Regions from separate parts of the Homo sapiens genome. Here region 1 is linked to region 2. The links are contacts of gene promoters, found by promoter capture Hi-C in blood cells and fetal thymus (Javierre and others, 2016). All regions are on one chromosome and are shown on one strand. The core of a region is centred on a gene start or on the middle of the fragment in contact, and the rest is flanking DNA. Distances in the headings are between cores, read along the strand shown. Region 1 holds the start of FARP1 (FERM, ARH/RhoGEF and pleckstrin domain protein 1). Region 2 holds the start of DOCK9-AS1 (DOCK9 antisense RNA 1).

Region 1 (2,724 bases), core at 16-2,515, 690 kb before region 2:
TTAGAGAATCACGAGCAGAAAAAAATCTGATCTGTGACACACAGCTGGTTGGGCTGACAGAGCAAAGCCTCAAACCCACCATTTCTTCTCTTCAACCACAGACCACCAAATCTGCAAGTATTACATCTCTGCTCCTCCCCAGGAGCTGCCCACAAGCACCCCCTACTTCCAAGACCCCTGTTCTTGTCTCAACCCGCCCTTCTATCAGGGTCCCTACACTCCACTTCTGCCCAGCTCCTGTCCAGCTGTGAGTTCACTTGAGGCCTCTCCCGTGAAATCTGCCCTCTCGGTCTGAGGTCAGGGAACTCCTGTAAGACGCAAAAGGCCCACGGTTCTGAGCCAGTGGCCTCCGAAGGCCGGAATCCGCTAGCCCCGGGTCTGGCAGAACGTCACTTGCTGCGCCCTAGGCCTCTTCCCGCCACGCTTAGAGAGAGGGACTGGAGGCTCAGAAGGGGGAAGAGAAGGTAACGCGGCAGCTGCTGGGTGGGGACGGTGACTGTGCCCCTAGATCGCTGCCTCCTGGGTCCTGAATCTTGCTCCCCGCTCCGTAGAGTTCCCGAAACCCCGAAGGCTCTCAAGCACCGCAAGCCACTCCTAACCTCCCCCACGCCATTCCCCAAGGGCACTGTCCCCCGAGGCTGGGCGGGCGGGAACTGTCATGGGATTCGCTCGGGCGGAGGGCGCTGGGCCAGGACGTGGGCGGGCGCGGGGTGGCCGCCGCTCCCCCAAGCTTAAGTCCCGCGCAGCCCGGGGTGGTGCCGGAAGCCCGTGCCTGTGGCTCCGGGGGAGGGGAGGGCTCGGTGGGTCCCTGAAGACTGTCCTCCCCGCGCGACGTCGCAGGCGAAGCAGCCCCAGGCAGGACCTCAAAAAGCGACCTGCAGAGTCCGAGCCCCTGACCGCCCGCCTGCCGCTCCCGGCTTCGCCGTGCACACGTCTCCCGCTCTCCCCGGTTCGTTTTTCGCCACAGCTGCTGGATTCGCGTCTCGCCAGTGGCGCTCCCCGCGCTGCATTAGGTAGCGCCGCGCGGAGCCCGGCCCTGGCCGGAAGCCCAAGAGAGGCGCAGATCCCCGGCGGCGCGCTGGGCTCGGGAGGCCCCTGGGCGCACCTGCCCGGGCGGAGCGGAGCGGGGCGGGGCGGGCGCAGGGCGCGGGCCCGGACGCTGGAGGGGGCTGTGGCTCTCCCGCGTCCCCGCTGCTCGGGCTGCGCGGCGCCCGCCTCCCCCCGCCGAGGGGCCGGCCCAGACCCGGGGAGGGGCGGTGGCCACTGCACTTCCCGCTCGCCGGCCTCAGAGGCGGCGGGTCCGGCGCGGGCGCAGCGGTGCGGGCGCTCGGCTGGGGCGCGGGGCGGGGACGCGGCCGCTGCCCGCTTTGCGCCGCTCCTCCCTGCGCGAGTAGCGCTGGCCCCGGCGTCGAGGCGGCCATGGCGACCCGGAGCCCGCTCCCCACCCACCCCGCCTGCTCCGCCCTCCCCTCCGCCCCGCGCCACCTTTGATGGCTCGGACCTCAGCCGGCCACCGCCAGCCCTGCTCGCGCGCCCGCGCCGCCGCCGCCCGCGGGTATTAATAGCCGGCGCCGCCGCGCCCTCGGCCGCCGGGGGCTTGGGAGCCGCCGATCCCGGAGCCCGAGCCGGGAGAGGGAGCCGCCGCAGCCGCCGGCGCTGTGGAGGTAGGAGGCGCGCGGTGAACAATGACCGCGGCGGGAGGGCGGGGGCCGGCGGGGTCCGGGCCGCGGGCGGCAACTTGTGCGAGTCCAGGCTCCCGCAGCGCACGGCCGCGGCTGCGGGCGAAGGTGGGCGCGTGGTCCCCGAGGTCCTGCCCTGCGCAGTCGGGCGGCGGGTCGGGCCCGGGCAGCCCCGGCCACCATCGCAGGAGCTCGGGGGCCTCGGGGCTCCGGGCTGCCCCCTGCGCCCCTCTCCCCTCACCTCCGCCGACGTCGGGCTGCGGGGCTCCGCGCCGGTCCCCGCTCGCCTCCCCCGACCCCGGCGCCCTTCCCCCGTTTCCTTCCGTCCTACCCGCCCGCTGACAGCGCTGGACGCCGCTTCCGGACCTCGGGCCGCAATCTCGGCCCCTGAGGCCGGTTGCGGGCCGGGGAGGTGGCCGCTGGCGCGGATGCCGCCGGGTGCCCGCCGCTCGCCCACGCGCGGCGCGAGGGTTCCCGGCGGGTGACAAAGAGGAACACACCCTCTGCCCAAGTTAGATTTGTGTCTCTCTTTACTGTCTGCCTTTATGCAGGGCAAAGTTTTTTTTATTTTTTATTTTTTAAAGCAAAGGACAGATTGCTTTGCGGCGAGTATTTCCAAACAACTTCTGATTGTGGTTTTACGATTCAAGTTCCGGAAACTTTAGCTGTGTGATCCGGCTGGACCCCGGAGACTCTGTGTGTGTGTGTGTGTGTGTGTGTTTTATTTGAGGGGGGGAAATACGAATTCCCTGTAATGAGTCTGGATCTCGTTTGTGGCAGCTGGAGGCCAGCGGCTGTTGGGGATCGAGTAGGGTTCCCCAGAAAGGAGGGAGCTGAGGCTCACAAAGAAGCGAGGCCCTGGTATCTGATCAGTTCGTGGAGACGTGGGAGAGCCTGCTTGTCATCTGGAACAGTTTAGCAGCCTCGGCCTCCCTGTCTCTCCCAGCCCTGGGGAGTACCGGTGGCCTCTGGCCGTTTCATTATATTGTTGTTAAGGCTCTTCTCCTTGTCAGTTTACCAGGTTTGACCGCCCAGCCCTGGTCTC
Region 2 (2,925 bases), core at 184-2,683:
TCTAGGTGCCCCTCCTGATACACTCAAGTTCCTCTACAATAACAGTGGTCACACTTGTACTCTCAGAGTTCCAGAGCTTGTCTGTGACCTCCATTAGACTACACTCCATGAGGGCTGGGAGAGGGTTGTTTTGTTCATGGTTGTATCCACGAATCCTATGTGGACAATAAATATTGTTTTTTAAAAAAAGGGTTAAATACAGAGATGGAAAAGGGACACCTACCATGTGTTTGTAGAAAAAGAGAGTTTACAAAAATACACAAGTTTGGTCATTATCTTGGCTGGCTCTCAGAGCAGAGAATTTAGGATGCTTTAATTCTGCAGAGATAGCAGATGTGTCAGCAGATAGAGGACAGAAAAGAACCACTTAGGTTGGGCTTCTTGTTCCTTACCTAAAATGTTTACTATTAAGCATCCTCACATAGGTTCTAACACTTCTTGATTCAATGGAATTTTAGTCAGTCCAATATTGATTCAATATTTAAATGTCAATTTACCAACAGAAACGCATCTCAGGCCCATATCTTATAGTAATGGAACATGAAATAAACCAAGCCAGCAAACGTGGCTTCCCAGTTTTCCAGATCTTGCAGTATCTTTATGACAAGGTAAATTGGTTAATGTGATACTCAAAGTTTTCCTGATACAGCAGGATTCTACAGAGTAAATCTGTATTGGAAAGCTAAACCACACGCACTTGCAAATGTGTCCGGACAAAGGACTTCTTTCCAGTGTAATCAAAGTTGTTCCTCATCAGGAAGTAGAGCAGCTGGGAGGCCTCCGTCCTGATGGAGCTCAGCTTGGAGTTACAGCACTTGAGAATCTCGTAACACAGAGCCGCACACATGTCCGCTCTCCCTTCATAGAATGTTGAGGGAAACTAGACAGGATGAGAGGAAGCAGCAGATAAACCACAGACAGGTCAGTGCTCGGTAATGTACCCTTCAATTCCGGGGGAAGAAGGAAAACATCTAACCACTGCCCATGAAGCAACTTACCTTATAAATTAAGGACCTTAAGGCAGTGAAGACATTTTTTAAAGCCGTTTCAGACTGATGTTTTTGAAGAAAACACAGGTAGACATCAAAAACTTTTTTCATGAGAGGATTATGTCCATGGTCGGCCAGGAGCTGGTTCTTAAAACACACATTGACGGCTTTGTTAGACATACCAGTCACCTCTAGTAGGTTTCACACAATTTCAGGCTCAAGAATTACATTTTCTAAGTATTAAGACAACTTATACTTTAAACAAACTCTGCCTTGAATCCTCTAGGAAAGTACAGAATTCTTTTGTAGAACAAGCAAATCTATCAATACATTTATGTTTTGGGGATGAACCTCCCAGCAAACTAACAGAGTTGAAAGGAACACTTGCTTAGTACTGACTGGGCTTCTATTTATTAATATGTACTCATTTTTACTGTCCACCAGCAGCTGATACAGAGGTGCCATTTGTGACATCTTAATTCCAACAGAGAAGTGCCATCACAGGTATGCGATAATTATAGATGGGAAAAAGTACTCAAGTAAGGTATATGAAACAGGTCTTCGAAAAGGGAAAAGTGATCTCCCCAGGCCTCTAAGGCACTCTGCTAAGCTATGAATAATCAGAGAGTTTGGTAAGGTGGAAAGTGTACAGGCTTTGGTCAGGTACCACTTATCATAGGCATGAATTTGCACAGGTAAACTGAGTCTCAGCATCCTCATCTGTAAAATGATGACCCTAAAACTGACCTTGAACAGCGACTGTGAAGACATGAGATCAAGTGTAGAAACCATCTGACGCATACTTTGGTCTAGCTCAGTAGGTGGCATCTAGTAGGGTTTTGACATTCGTGGATTTTACTTATCAAAGAAAACAAGAAGACTACAATTTGCTTCTAGTCATTCAAGATTTCCTCATGTCAGTAGAAAATTCACACAAATTAAACACTTTGGAAGCCTGGTTGGCTACAACTCCCATCAACTGTAGAATATACACAGCAGCTAGAGGTGTGGCCCAGCAAGCAGCCAGGATGAACTTCGTGTCTAATGTGCACAACACTAAATGACACACCACCACCTTCCAATACAGACAAGCTGTCTGAACAAAGCTCTGTTGGGGAACGATAGGTGTGTGCATTCTGCACAAGTAGGCAGATTTGACATTAATAAAAAAAAATGTCAAGAGGCCAGTATCTCAAACCAATCTTACAATTTGGCCAACGGAACAGGGGTAACTTATGTCCATATAATTTTGCTACATAGCAAATTATGGTTGCGGTCATAGTTTCAGAGCAAGATCTACCTTGTCTTGTTGTTGGAGGGAAATTTTTCCTCAAGGAGTAAGTTTTTGTTTTTTTTTAGGTCCAGTGAATTGTGAATCTATCACAGCTGGCAGAACACCTGGAATTCACAGTGATCTTTCTATCATGAAATACTAAGGTACCATATTGAATTCCGTCATGTGAAAGGGGAGCAATTTAATGAGCAGAAAGTGGGACTAATTAAATGAATATGATCTAATTCTCAACCATGAGAATTAGTTCTCAACCATGATCTAATTCTCAACCAAAAAAAAAAAAAAAAAAGATTTCCAGTGTTTGGGGAACTGCTTACAAGTTTTATCTATGAATGCCATTTTCTCAGGAGCTGTAGTTTGAAAGCCTTGCTTTCCTCCAATGAATTTACATTCCTAATTATGACTGGATTAAGGTTTGGGTGAATCTGGAGGTGAGCTTTCATTTCTTAGCACTCTTTGCTGAGGCTATCCAGGAGATACGGTTTCTACAAAAATTCCCAAGCTTCCAAGTTCTGCTGTCTGAACTGGCCCATGTTTCTAATGTTTCTCCACCTTTCCCATGTTTCTCTACTTCAGTTCAATTTCTCCTCCTTTTCCTCTCTATGGTCATGGCCTTTACTTCTCATTTTCAGGATTCAGTCC

The links. Contacts are between HindIII fragments. The CHiCAGO score rates a contact against its expected background, and 5 or more counts as called.
Region 1: a contact is called between the fragment with the promoter of FARP1 here and the fragment with the promoter of DOCK9-AS1 in region 2, in 1 of 17 cell types (M2 macrophages). The highest score is 5.5, in M2 macrophages.

The regions. Positions count from the first base shown.
Region 1 is chr13:98,141,829-98,144,552 of GRCh38, forward strand. It overlaps FARP1 (FERM, ARH/RhoGEF and pleckstrin domain protein 1), which reads left to right and starts at 1,266. Exons shown (of 27, transcript NM_005766.4): 1 at 1,266-1,664. LOC105370328 (a long non-coding RNA gene) reads right to left here and starts at 2,082. Exons shown (of 3, transcript XR_931670.4): 1 at 2,011-2,082. RefSeq lists silencers at 717-766, 1,007-1,316. The HindIII fragment of the contact is 2,199 bases long and covers 729-2,724 here.
Region 2 is chr13:98,830,651-98,833,575 of GRCh38, forward strand. DOCK9-AS1 (DOCK9 antisense RNA 1) reads left to right here and starts at 1,434. Exons shown (of 3, transcript NR_046663.1): 1 at 1,434-1,493; 2 at 2,349-2,426. DOCK9 (dedicator of cytokinesis 9) reads right to left here. Exons shown (of 53, transcript NM_001366683.2): 40 at 999-1,136; 41 at 698-880. The HindIII fragment of the contact is 4,269 bases long and covers 1-2,783 here.